Regions from separate parts of the Homo sapiens genome. Here region 2 is linked to region 1. The links are contacts of gene promoters, found by promoter capture Hi-C in blood cells and fetal thymus (Javierre and others, 2016). All regions are on one chromosome and are shown on one strand. The core of a region is centred on a gene start or on the middle of the fragment in contact, and the rest is flanking DNA. Distances in the headings are between cores, read along the strand shown.

Evidence for each region. The method cuts DNA at HindIII sites, captures the fragments that hold promoters and counts their contacts. A CHiCAGO score of 5 or more calls a contact.
Region 2: a contact is called between a fragment that was not itself captured here and the fragment with the promoter of CSMD3 in region 1, in 1 of 17 cell types (M2 macrophages). The highest score is 5.4, in M2 macrophages.

What each region holds. Positions count from the first base shown.
Region 1 is chr8:113,432,177-113,438,983 of GRCh38, forward strand. It overlaps CSMD3 (CUB and Sushi multiple domains 3), which reads right to left and starts at 4,763. Exons shown (of 71, transcript NM_198123.2): 1 at 4,501-4,763. The coding sequence starts at 4,678. It overlaps LOC105375709 (a long non-coding RNA gene), which reads left to right and starts at 11. Exons shown (of 2, transcript XR_928544.3): 1 at 11-250; 2 at 365-954. RefSeq lists enhancers at 1-1,103, 410-913, 3,347-3,857, 5,635-5,684, 5,697-6,197 and 1 more. The HindIII fragment of the contact is 6,354 bases long and covers 3,073-6,807 here.
Region 2 is chr8:117,038,175-117,044,581 of GRCh38, forward strand. It overlaps a transcript of SLC30A8 not described here. Among named protein-coding and RNA genes, the nearest start is that of SLC30A8, 94 kb to the right of the region's middle. The HindIII fragment of the contact is 252 bases long and covers 4,922-5,173 here.

The DNA of each region.
Region 1 (6,807 bases), core at 3,513-6,012:
GTGCTGCAAAAGGACATTTCAGAGCGCTTTCAACAAGCTAACTGTCCAGTGAAGTTCAGCTCCGAATTCTGGTAACCGTTCAAGCCCTGTCAGTCCGGTAAATTGGGTTAACTTAGCAACTCGGTGGTGCAAAGCCTCCCCAAAGACAAGACCGCATTCAGGGAGAAGAGAACCAGCCTCATGCCTGAGCCGATCTTTCTTCCTTTGGTTGTCCTCCTTCATTATTATTCTGCAATGCGCAGCAATCCCTGTGCGTGCCCCTGTGTCAGCCCCTTAGCTGGTCACTCCAGCGGGGCTGGGAGAAGACCACTTTGGCTACTCAGATGGCACTATGCTGTTTAATTTCTTCTGCTCTCTCCCTCAGAGTCTAACTAAGCCCTTGCAGCACTTGAGCCGGGGGCTGCCCTCCTGCTGGCCTTTCCGTCGTCGTTGAACGGATCTGGGGGACGGGGACGTTGCAGAGGAGCCACAATCCCCACTCGTTGTTTCCCCAATGTGCTTTCCGAACTCCCCGAGTGCGTCTTAGATAAGTTATTTGAGTGAGGACAGCGCTGCGGTCCGCCTGGAGAAAGGGAGCTTCCTCCGCACTTCTACTTCATCGTGACAGCAGTGGTCGCAGCGCCACTGGCCATCTGGAGTCCTGGGAACATTAAAGCGCTGTTACCCGCCAGGCGTTTCCGCCTAGGACACACTCACACCCACCCTCGGAGACTCCTAAAGGTTTCTCCGTGTCAATTCATGTGTCCTCCTCCCAGCAGCACACACGCACACACGCACATCAACAGCCAAGTCAGCCACCCAGTTTCAACTTCGGGTTGTCCATGAAAATTCAGGGAGGCTGATCTTCTTGAAGAAATTAATGAGTATTCCCACAGGAAATAGATGTAAGGGAGGGGCGCCTGTCCAAACTACAGCAGGAGGGGGCCCTGACTCAAATACAAAGGTTACCTTTCAGTGGGTTTCTCAGTCTTGCTAGTGTTGGGGGAAGGGTTTTGATAATGGTTTTGTCTAGGTGGGTTTTTGTTTGCTGTTATTATTTTGAAAAGACATTGATTTCCCTTCCCTCAGCCCCCTTTGTAAAGCTCTCTCAAGCTGAGACAGATATTTTCCTGATGTGTTGGGAAAGACTGTCGCCTTATGGGCGAGGACTGTGGGTGTCAGTCCCCGGGACACACGCGGGGCTGAAAGCTCCGGACATGGCCACCTGGGCGGGCGTCTGTAAAAGGTGCTAATGAGTGCCTCTGGCAGCTCTTCCCCCTCATAAGACACCCGCGCCCCTCTCCAGTAGCAACTAACTGCGGGAGAGGATGCGATTTCCACTTTTCCAAAAGACCTCTGTGGCAGGAGTAGTATCTCCTTGGAGTCTCAGAGCACGCAGAAACGTGGATCCTTCGCGAAGTCGCTCTGGCGAGAATCCCTGGAAAGACGCTCTGGCGTGGGGTGCGCGACGCCGCACCCGGTCTCCCACCTGCTGCCTACCCAGAGATCTGTGCCTTCGCGGTACCTTCGCTGCACGGTGTGTGTTCCCCTGGGATCCACTGACAAGCAGCGTGGGAAAACATCCCATGGATGTCTCTTTACATGGGCGGGACGCTTAAGCACGACTTGGAGATTCACAGTTTCTATCTGGGTGAGACCTAAACAGACACGCTGCAGCTGGAGGCATTTCAGAAACCTCTGCCTGTGTGTGTGTGTGCGTGTGTACCTGTGTGGGGGGTGCGGGGGAGGGGAGTTCAGTTTGAAATAGGCATGGATCAAGTCTAGGCAGCACCTGCCCTGTCCCACGCCTCAGTTTGGTGCTCTCCACAGCCTTTTATTTCACATGACAGTGGAAATGAAATGCCAAGGAAAGGTTGTTTTCCTTTTCAGCCCCACCCGAGTGGTTCAGGCCTACCTAAGACCACTTTATCTTACACTCCGAGGCGTTTCCTCCCACTAAGCCTCTTTGTCATTGCTGTTGAACGCAAAGGTGAGATGGTGGAGGGATGAAAACTGTAGGCAGATGGTGTAATTCTCGTGGCTAGAGCTGTTCACGTGGAAAACTGCCTGCCTCGGACTTCCTGGACCCTCACGCTAGTCTAGATTAGAACCTGCAAAATCCTTACAACGGCTCCCCAGTCTGAGGTTTTTCATGGACCTCACATTCCAGAAGAAAGTGTAGAAGACAAAAGCGAGCATAGACATTGGGGCAAACAATGTTTAAGGCATTGCATCAATCTTGGCTTTAGGAAAGCCTTGAGACAGGTGAAATTAAAATAAAATGAGGAAAGGGAGAGTAAAAAGCAACTATCAAAATTGGCATCATTCGGAGATTGACAGCAGGTCTAAAACATAAAACCTATGCAAATTTCTCAGAATTTGGGGACAGTATTCCAAGTCGTAAAATGTAGGAGATGCCTTCCAAGTGCCCGATGAGTGACAATAACTTTATTGACATTGAAAAAAAATGTTTTTTACGTATAGTCTGTAGAATATTGATTTTGCACAGGATCAAAGAAGGCTATGACATACTCTTCCTTCTCAATATCTCCAAAGCTAAACCGATTATATCAGTCCAAAGTAAATTAACGCGCCTTTCCTTTCTATCGGCGCATCTCATTCGGAAAATACGGTAGGTGCGGGCAGCCGGGGCTCTAATTGCAGGCGGCGCGGATCAGCGTTAGTCAGGCTGTAATGCTCGCCCCGCTTCGGAGACTTCCCTCCCCCTCATCTGCCCCCGAATGTGTTTTGGCTCAACAGGTATCACATGAAAACTCGCACTTAAACCCTGGTCATCTTCTCACAGGAGCCACCCTTACATTTTTCTGCCAGGGCTGCTGCTGGCTATTCGCGCCTCCCCCACGCGAAGCGCGCGTCTAGCAGGCAGCCCCAGGGCCATCCATTAACCACCAACTCCCAGTGGCAGGCGAACTAAGCATAAATGTGTGGCTCCTCACCCGTCGAGCCAGCGACAAAGAAACCTTGTAAGCAACCTGAGCCGTGCTTTGTACATTTGGCAGTGTAGTTGTGCCACTTAGGACAAGCTTTTCGGCTCAGAGCTGCTCTGAGGCCCCAGAGAGAAAAGAAAAATCAAGCTTCAAGGAGCAGGTTGGGATTACAAGGCAGTTGCTGCCACAGAGACCGGGGCGACTGACTTCCTGGCATTTTGGGATGTAAATTAAAATTCTAGACATGCCACCCATCATTGGTTATAGTAGAGGGAAAGGTAACCTCTCCAGCTCCCTCCTCCCAAAACATGAATTATCATTTCCACTGAATGCAAATGAGCTGCCTTCCGTGGGGGGACAGCCAGCTGCAAGCTGGACAATAAACTGTTTCATAGAGACGCGGCCCGATTGCAGTTCAGAGAGGCACTCCTTTACAAAGGAAGAAGCGTCCAGTTTGTGTTGACAGCCCTGGCGCGCCTGGGCCAAAACAGCACCCCCTTTCCCGCGATCCCCCGCCCCCCCGCGACACACAGACACCCGGGATTTGAAACTAGCTTCACTGAAAGCGGCATCCATAGCGTCTATTCGAGCTGCCATGAGTATGGAGAGGTGATTGTTCAAAAAATGATGGCATGAGTCATAAACACCTCCTGAGTATTCTTTGCAGCAATTAATGGGCAGCAGGGTGCCGGAGAAGTTGTGGAAGAGAGCTATGGATCTATTTTCTCCCTAAGGACAGCTCTTTTTCCCATGATCCTGACTGTCCCTTGCCTTCCTGCTTGGGAATACATTTTTACATCCCACCTACCCCCTCCCCTATCTGTGCATGTGACACTCACTCTACCTGTCTGAACGCTGAGACTTGCTGGGGATTTTCTTTTGGTCGTCAGCTAATGACTTTCCTCCTACCTCATTCATCCCTTAAGGTGGTTCTTTACACTTCATGGCATTTCAGACCCTTCGAAAGCCTCATTTTTTGCCAAACCTCTACCACAGGTCCTAGGGAAGCTCCCCTACATTTAACATTGCATAGAAGCCCAATTTACATACATATGCATGCAGACATTCATGTTGATGTGGCAGTGCTTGGAAGATCCCTGTGCCCTAATGCATTTAAAATCAACACATTCCTAGCACGTCGATAACTTTCTTCCCTGAAAGGGTTAAAAAGCATTTAGACCAGCGTCTTTAATATATATATTCCACCCAAAGCCTCAAGCCCTAGTGATCTGACAAGAAATCAAGGTAATCCTCACCACTAAGAAAAGTCTTGCAGAGGAATTCTGCCTGGATATCCACTAGTTAGAGGCTATACTAACCAACTCACGTATTCGTTTGAGCATACTGCAAGAATATTTATTGAGCACAAGCTCAATCACCGCATTGAACGCCAAATCTGGCAAGCAAAATGCATTTCCTATCTGAGGGGGGGAGAACGAGCTGTGAATCAACTCCTTTAGTATTATCAGATTATTTTATCGGTGCAAATTGCAAAGTAAGCTGCCAGCCTCTCTCCATCTACAAGTCAGCCCACCTCCATCCAAAGCGGAGGGGACCCCCAAAGCAGACCTACCTTTCACACAAGACACCGTCAATAAAAAGACGAGGTTCCAAAACGTAAATCCACTTTTAATCCCCATTTTCTTCATCAGGATGAAGTCTAGGCGGCCACATTTAGCGCATCTTCGCTTGCCAGGCTCCCAGGGTTTGGATTCCTTTGCTCGGCTTTCCCCTTTGCGGATCCCTTTCATATTATTCGCGAGCTCCTAATTCCTGCTCCTCAGCCCGGCGCAGTGGAGTTGTTGCTGTTGTTGGTGCGCGGTCACAGCTCGGAGTGAATGGTGTTTCTGGGATACCACAGCAACCTTGACGAGGACTCAACCATCTCTCCAACGGGGGCACAAAGTCTCCGCTACTCTGGATTCTGTCTTTTCTTGTGCGTTTTTTCCCCTCCACCAAAATCTACCCCAATTCTGGCTCGTTATAGCAACCACCAGAAACCACTAGTGAGCCTCTTAAAGCCCACCTCTGCTCTCTGATAAACTCCACACAATATTTGAAATTAAGGGGCTTGCTTTTTTTCCCCGAATAGATCAATTCTGCCTGTAAAAGCAGCCCAAGAAATAATGTTAGTGAGCTCTCCGTTGCAGGCTGCGAATACAGAAGCATGTCAAAGGAATATTTTAATCGGAGGATCTGTGTTGCTTTTGGGGAAACCGTGACGATAATGAATCGGGCTCCATCGATGCCCACGTCGTTATAATGGGACATGTGTTACTACTGTAGTTGCAGTATATTTCAGGCAGGCTTCTCCCATTTATTATCCTGTGATTTAATTGAAAAAGGAAATCACAGAGAATTTTCTCAATAAATTCTGCCTTCACACGGAAAAGAATGTATTTGAACACATGTATTTACATACTCAAATAACTACGTGTAAACCCTTCACCGGGTTTTTATGATTCGGGAAACGGATTTCATCCGTGGCCTGGGCGGGGGTGGGGTGGGGAGGGAAGTCAATGTCGTTTCCTCAAATAGTTCTCCCTTTCATCCTCCCAACCCCCTTTTCAGTTTGTGTGTGCCGCAGTTAAACTACTTTATCTGTGGTAGTTATCTAGAACAAACCCATTTGTCTTAATTCTGAATCGGTACCAAATATGTAAATAGGAGGTTTCTTTCAAAACGAAAAATGTATGTATCTATACATCTGGATCTGCTTCCCCCATGCACCACGCAAGGGTTAAGATTGCACAAGGGAAGAGTTCTTGCGCCATCTACTGGCCGTCTCCGAGCCGCCCGTTCTTCCTTCGCATGTATAAGGGACCCTGTTTTTGCCATCCCTTGGTGTCAGGGGAGCTGTGTCCCCGGGACCAGTATGTCGTGCTCCTTGATTTTTTTCGACCACGGTCCTGGCCCAAATCTTTCAATGAACAAGTTCCTTAGATTAGGCAACTGATTGGTGATCTGACCTTTTCGGGAATCTGGTCCCCTCTCAGCAGTGGGGAGTGCCACAGCGCTAGTTCTGAAACAGGATATTGCTGTTGCGTGTGGCTCCATTTAACTGCCTCAGGCTATCATGGGCGTGAGCGTCTATCAACAAGGCTTAGTCTAGAGGACTGCCCAACTTGAGTTTGCAGCTCCCTGCACTGTGCACAAATAATGGGTTTGGTCCCGTGCACCACAGCATTACCCTGGCCAGCTTTGTCCCTTGGCTCGCGTTGGAGCTGCCCGCTCAGCAGAGGAAGGCGTTAGAATCTGGAAGGAGTTCCGCTCTGGGAAGTGGGCACACTGCGAGTGTCCATAGGTTTGAGTGGCGAGTGAGTTCAATCTGCAGGCGTAGGAAGGCTTCTGATCTCTCGGGGTACGTGGCATTGTGTGTGGGCCTGTGATTCTCCCAGTTCGTGTGTGTGTGTGTGTGTGTGTGTGTGTGTCTGCGCGCGCGAGAGCATAAACGCGCTGTAGTGAGAGGTAAGTGTGCGTGTTTATGAAAGATACAAAGAGTGATTTGCCATGCGTAGGTGTTTTCCCAAGTGTATTTTTGCAGTACATATGCGTGTGCACGCCTGTGTGTGTTTGTGTGTTAGAGAGGGATTTCTGTCCTGGGTAGGGAGCTGTAGCAAAAGGTAAAAGCTGTAGACGCCCAGCTGACCTCATTAAATTCAGAGAGATACTTTAAGAGCCCTCAGGCAGAACATTGTCCCTTCTTTTCAGTGCTCTCTTTCATTGTCTGCATATGCAGGTTTCGAAGGGGAGTGGGCAACAAGGTAGGGACTAGACAGAGACTGGGAGGATCAACATGGAAAACGACATTAGCCTGCTAAGCCACCTTGGCAGCTGCTCTGGCATTGATTTCAGTCAAGATGTCAGCGTGTGGTGTTGC
Region 2 (6,407 bases), core at 3,798-6,297, 3.6 Mb after region 1:
AATGCAAATGATACAAGAAAGTTTACATGATAAGTTAAGCCTCTCTTTTAGCCCCCAAATTTCCCTTCCCCAGAGACAATTATTATTTCTAGCTTATTGTACATCTTTTTTTATTTTTATTTTTTCCAAAACACCAGAGATCGATATGTACATCTTTAAAAATAAGTTCTATGCACTTAACAATAATTTATGTGTGTATGCATTCCTTTGAAACCACTGATGATATCTGCTGCTGTATATCTTGATTTATTTTCAATTTAACAATGGATCTTGGAGATGGTTTCTTTTTTATTTCTTGATTGTATAGTCTTTATTAGATGAACACACCAGAACTCATTTGGCCATTCCTGTACTAATGTACATTTACTAGGTTTTCAGTATTTTGCTTCTACAAACAATACTGCAATAAATATTTTCATCCGTAGATCATTGTGCATGTGGACATAGCTGTAGAAAAAAATCACTAGAGGTGGAAGTGTTAAAAGGTATATGAATTTAAATTTGCAATGGGTAGAGTAAAATCGTACTCTAGAAATGTGAAGACATTCTATCAACCATGCTTGAGAGTGTTCGATGCTCCACACTTTGGCCAATCTGAAGCATTTTCTGTATTCTTCACAATTCCCCTGGGTAACCAATAAGATGATTTTAAACTAAAAGATAGCTTGTTGTTAGGTCATCACAACCATCCCACAAGTGTTTGCCTTGGTGTTTTCAAAGGATCTCTGAAGATGCTTTATGAATCATTTCTTGTTGTTAGATGCCTAAGTGCAGTTGTCAAGGCTGTAGAACTGCCAAGGAGGAAGGGAAGGCAGTGCCAGCTGAAACAGCAGAGAGATTCAGGAGAGTGATGCAGAAATACTCGTGGAGACTCTCATTTCTGACCTGGATCTCAAATAATAAATGATGATTTATTCCTTTATCATTCAGACAGTCTTGTGCACCTACTGCAACCAGACCCCTGCTGGATCCTGAAGCTCGAAAAGGGAATAAGATGTATTTTCCACCTTCAGTTTAGTTGCTCATTTTTTACTTCTCTTACAGGAGAGAAGACGTGTTTTCTTGACAACAGCACAGTACCTAGGTATATCTATATTTACTCTGTGTGTGTGAGAGGGAGATCAATATGTATAAATTTGGTAGTATGCTTTATTTTTTTCTTTAATTTTCATTAAAATTTTGTTTTACTTGTTTTCTTTTCTAATAATATATCTAATGGCTTACATCTTTCTTAATAGATAAAAATATCCTTATGAGCAAATATTTCTACTCAGCTCTGGTGCTTCTTTTTCTGCTACACATTCTATGCAGCTCAAATCCCATTCTACTCATGAATCCTTTTTGATACCTGTAGTCACGTTAGGCTCTGCCCCATACTTTATACAGACAGTCTTGTAATGTAATTGTCTTTCACTAGTGCCTCCAACTGAGCTTTAGTCTCTTCAAGGACAGAAGAGGACATTGTTGAGGCCTTCACAATATTGTCTATCCAAGTGGACCCTTGAGGGCAATGGTTTGTACTCCTAGTGGGAGGCATCAGTGAATAATAGCTGAATAATATCTTGCTTTTATTATGTTTTTAGCTTTTCTGTATGTTTGTGACTAGCATGCATATAGTAGGTGTGTAGAAAGTAGATACATTTATTTAACTGTTATTTGAGATGCAGGACAGAGTTTCCAGTGCCATTTTTTATAGCTTTTGATTTTTTTCTGACCTCTAGACCTTTCTAGGCCTTTTGATAAATTATCTTCTCCTCCCCCCGAGCTTTCCCCTCAAGGAGAGGATACTTCCTTTAGGTCATGATGCTAATATGTCTGTGCTAACATCTGAAATTCAAGTTCACTGTTTTTCTTCCCCCATCTCACGTAGCCTGTGTATGTACATATGCCTGTGGACATTACACTTACAGACACATACAAATTTCTTTCTGATCACTGTGACTTTCTGAGCCCTTGTCTTCAGAGGTCATTTTCCTGAGAGCTTGTGACTAGTTCGGAATACAGAGGAGCTCTTAGATATCTTCTCATACAAGAGAAGGAAGCAATTTGCGACCTAACAATAGGGTTAATGTCAGCTGGTCATAGTTTAGTGAGTTTAATTACTGGAATTTCTATATAATATTACCCCAAATGACATCTGGGTTGGAATGAACATGAGATTCCTTTTGGGTGAGCAAAATAAAACAGGCCATGCAAAACTATGCTCTGTCTAATCCTTGTGCCTGATGCACACGGGCTTCAGTGACATTTCTGGAACTGATTTGTACTTAGCCAAGATGCACTTTTTAATAAACTGCAAGAGGAAAATGGCATTAGCTACTTTAACAAGGAAGCAAAATATATAGTTGGAAAGTGAGAATGAAAAATGCTTAAGTAAAAAGATGAAAGAATTTTTCCTTGTTCACCCACCTCATTCCCCGGATTAATTAATACCTATTTTGCCTCCAAGTAAATACAGGATCAAAATGGTAATGAAATGAATTCATTTTTGCAAGCATTGTGAATTGGACTAATTTCAAATTTGTTTTAATGAAGGCAAGCGTAAGCACTGACAATTGCAGGAAGCTCAATCTAGTATTGAAGATGAGCTAACTAATGCCTTTCATTTCAAAGTGTAATCCATGAACCAGCTTCATAGCATCATCTAGAAGCTTCTTAGCAATGCCGAGTTTTAACCCCTATACATAGATCTCCTGAATTCGAATCTACATTTAGCAAGACCCCCAAGAGACATATATGCACGTGAAAATGGGGAATCACTGGCCCATGATGTTGCATTTCTGTTAGGGGCTTTCTCCCATAGAGTAACCAAAGAACCAGTCACCCAAGGGAGATAAACTGAGGACCAGATTTGAGAGGTTTCCAGCCACACAGGGAGGAATGCACAGATGCATGCTGGATTCCGCGGTGCCAAACCAAACAGTTTGCCATTTGCTCTGACTGTTTTATTGCCCTGAAACTATGCACTCAGCTTCTTCTGAGGCTTCCAACACACAATGAATCCACAGAAAAAATAAATAATGTAAAGGTTTTCTAAGGCACTTGGCAGCAGAAGGAATTTTTAGTGGGGCTCAGATTGAGGGAGGGGTGGAGAAGAGGAAGAAATGGAATTTGGACATATAGCAGAAAGGAATTCCTAAACACTTTCCGAGTTTCATCACCTTGGCAGGTTGAAAAAGGAATTTGTATGTGACAGATTCTAGAATTTGCCCTGAAAAATTTCTGATGGCGGGCTGGGCACGGTGGCTCACGCCTGTAATCCCAGCACTATGGGAGGCCAAGGCGGGTGGATAGCCTGAGGTCAGGAGTTCGAGACCAGGCTGCTTAACAGAGTGAAACCCCCGTCTCTACTAAAAATACAAAAAATTAGCTGGGCGTGGTGGTGGGCACCTGTAATTTCAGCTACTCGGGAGGCTGAGGCAGGACAATTGCTTGATCCAGGAGGCGTAGGAGGCAGTGAGCTGAGATCAGGCCATTGCACTCCACCCTGGGCAACAAGAGGTAAACTCTGTCTCAAAAAAAAAATAAAAAAATAAAAAAAATTCTGATGGTTGAGGGAATGAGAGTCTAAACATTTTGAGCAAAGGACTTGACACATTGATTGCTTTAGGTCCTAGGTCTTGTGTGTTTTAGTGAGAAGTGAGTTGCTTCTGCCGTCTTCAATAAGATACATTTCAGTTACAGCCTCTTCATCCCGCCATTCGGTGTTTTCATTTGGGCAGTAGACAGCTAAAATATTGGCCAATGAAGGAAAACAGATTTCCCAATGAATAGTTCTACGCCATGAATAAATGAGATTAGAGGGATGCCTAAACTAATTCCAGGTTATTACAGTCTTCATCTCTATCCTAATTATCTTTAGTTTCACTCCTGGTTTATGGACAGAAATTTAAAGCCAGTACATTTTATCTTCTGTATCATTTAGTCCCCTTTTGACTGAAGCATTGCAATATTCTCTTTAATTTTCATGAGAATGAATTTCACCTTTTATGACATTCAAAGACATTATGATGTCTTTATGAAAAATGATGTCACCCTGATATCAGCAATAAAATAACAATGTCCTAATGCCAATAAATGTGTTAACCATATCAGTCATCTTTCAGCTTTTCTGGCTTTGCTTCGGAAACTGCAGAAAACCTCAAGGTTTTTAATTTGTGAGCTCTGCAGAAGCAGTCATGGCACTTTACATTTTCGTCTGGTTGAATGCTCAGGAAATGGACCATAATTAAGTGACTATCTTGGTAACAGGCAGGGTTATTTGGATAATGCCTAAATCAGACTGGATTTTGCAGACTTTCATGTATCTGTGTATGTGAGGCGGGGCGGGGTTTGGGAAATGTATCCTCAGGTACTATCTGGTCTGGACCCAAGGAAGCCGGTGCTGTTTTATTCCTTACATTTAAAGTCCTGCTTTGGGAGTCATCCTCTGGGAAACAGCCTGCTGAGACTTGGAATAGGCTAAATAATACTAGATTTGGGGGCTATGAATTTAGTGCTTTTTTTTTTTTTTAGAAGGAGTTTCGCTCTTTTCACCCAGGGTCAGGCTGGAGTGCAGTGGCATGATCTTGGATCACTGCAACCTCCGCCTCCCGGGTTCAAGCGATTCTCCTGCCTCAGCCTCCCGAGTAGCTGGGATTACAGGCATGTGCCACCACAACCGGCTAATTTTTGTATTTTTAGTAGAGACGGGTTTTCACCATGTTGGGCAGGCCGGTCTCGAACTCCTGACCTCAGGTGATCCGCTGGCCTTGGCTTCCCAAAGTGCTGGGATTACAGGCGTGAGCCACCGCGCCCAGGCTAATGTAGTACTATTCATCTGTCAATTTACAGGGTTACTTATGTGAATCAACCTTTATGGAGGGTTTATGCTTAGGATCATATCAGAAACCCTGCAGGATATCAAAGATATATAACATAAAGCTTTCTTTGAGCAGCTTATATTTTTTTGGTTGGGGAGAATAAGTTTCCAGACAGTATATAATTAGAGAAAAAGCAAAAATGTAGAGTTTTCACTCCCAGTTAGCATGGAGCCTGTTTTTTGGGATTCTAGCATGCTAGAGCTTATCAAGTTGTGATTTGAATTACAGAAACCAAGGACATTGGATCCAGACCCTCCAAACTGTGGACTTTCAGAGACAGGAAATCAGCATGGGCTTCGTTGGTCAGGAGAAGCTTCCGGCAGAAAGAGAACTTGAGTGGGTTTGTGAGGATGAGTGGGAAGTGCGTGAATAGAGAGACACCAGGGAAGTCATCGTATGTCAGGCAGTCAGAATAATCACAAAAGTGAGAGAAGCCTGGCATGTATTTGGAAAAATGAGAGATACTCCTGGTTGGGGAGATACCACACAGGTGATAAAGGTGATTGATAAAGATAGGGTCAGATTTCAGAATAACTTGACTATAAAACAGGGGTATTTTAACTTGATCCCATAAGGTCTGACACCAGACACTTTTCCCCCATAGAAAAATATAATACGGATAATATTGTGACATGTGCCTGTGAGCTACTCAGAGATTTGTGCAATTCTCAACATTTTCCATTTATAATTCTCTCCACCTGCCTTGCCCCACCACCACCCTGGGTTGAAAATGGCGTACTGAAATCCACGTAAATGAGATACCTCAAAAAACAGTAGGTAGAATTCATAGTTACATTATATGAAAAGGTAAGTTCAAAAATTTCAGTATGTTTTTTAGTTCTGCAATTATTTTATTCAATAAGTGTTGAGGAGGCAACTTTAAGCTACAGGCTATAAGGTAAACTAAGTCAGATGGAGACACTGCCTTTGAGGAGCTTACATTCTTTGGGGAGAGATGATCCATCAACTAGTAGTTATTATATAGTGTTGGAAGAACTGTAATGATGGAAGCGTAGGATGTGATGTGAGCTTTGTGAGGGGACTCTCATTAGAACTGGCCTTGACAAGTCTATCCAAAGGAGGTGACATTTAGATTGAGGACTGAGGAGGTAGTGGTCTTACCCAAGTGAAGAGCCTGGGGTAAAGTGTTCAGGCAGAGGGGTATCCGCGTACACAAAGGCCAAGAATTCACCATTGTTTCTGGGGCTGCTGTGCAACAGAAAGTCAGTATGGAAGGAAGACTAGTAAATCGGTAACATTGTTTATTCATTGGACAAATGACTGAGTACACATTGGAGGCTGTTTGTCCTTATTAGGTGATGTTATTCTCTGCAAAAGGGTGATGGAGAATCCAGTAACGAGGCCTGGAAACCAAAGGGCAAATTTATCACCTTTTTAGACGCGCCCACCAGTCCCCAGAGGACGCGTCCCAGCAGATGATTCTTGTTCAATCAGCCAACAACTGGGTTTGGAGGAGAAAGCCAAAGCATCCCCAGGGGGTCGACTGCTTCCCTAAGGCGTGTCAGCGGGTTGACAGAGCACAAG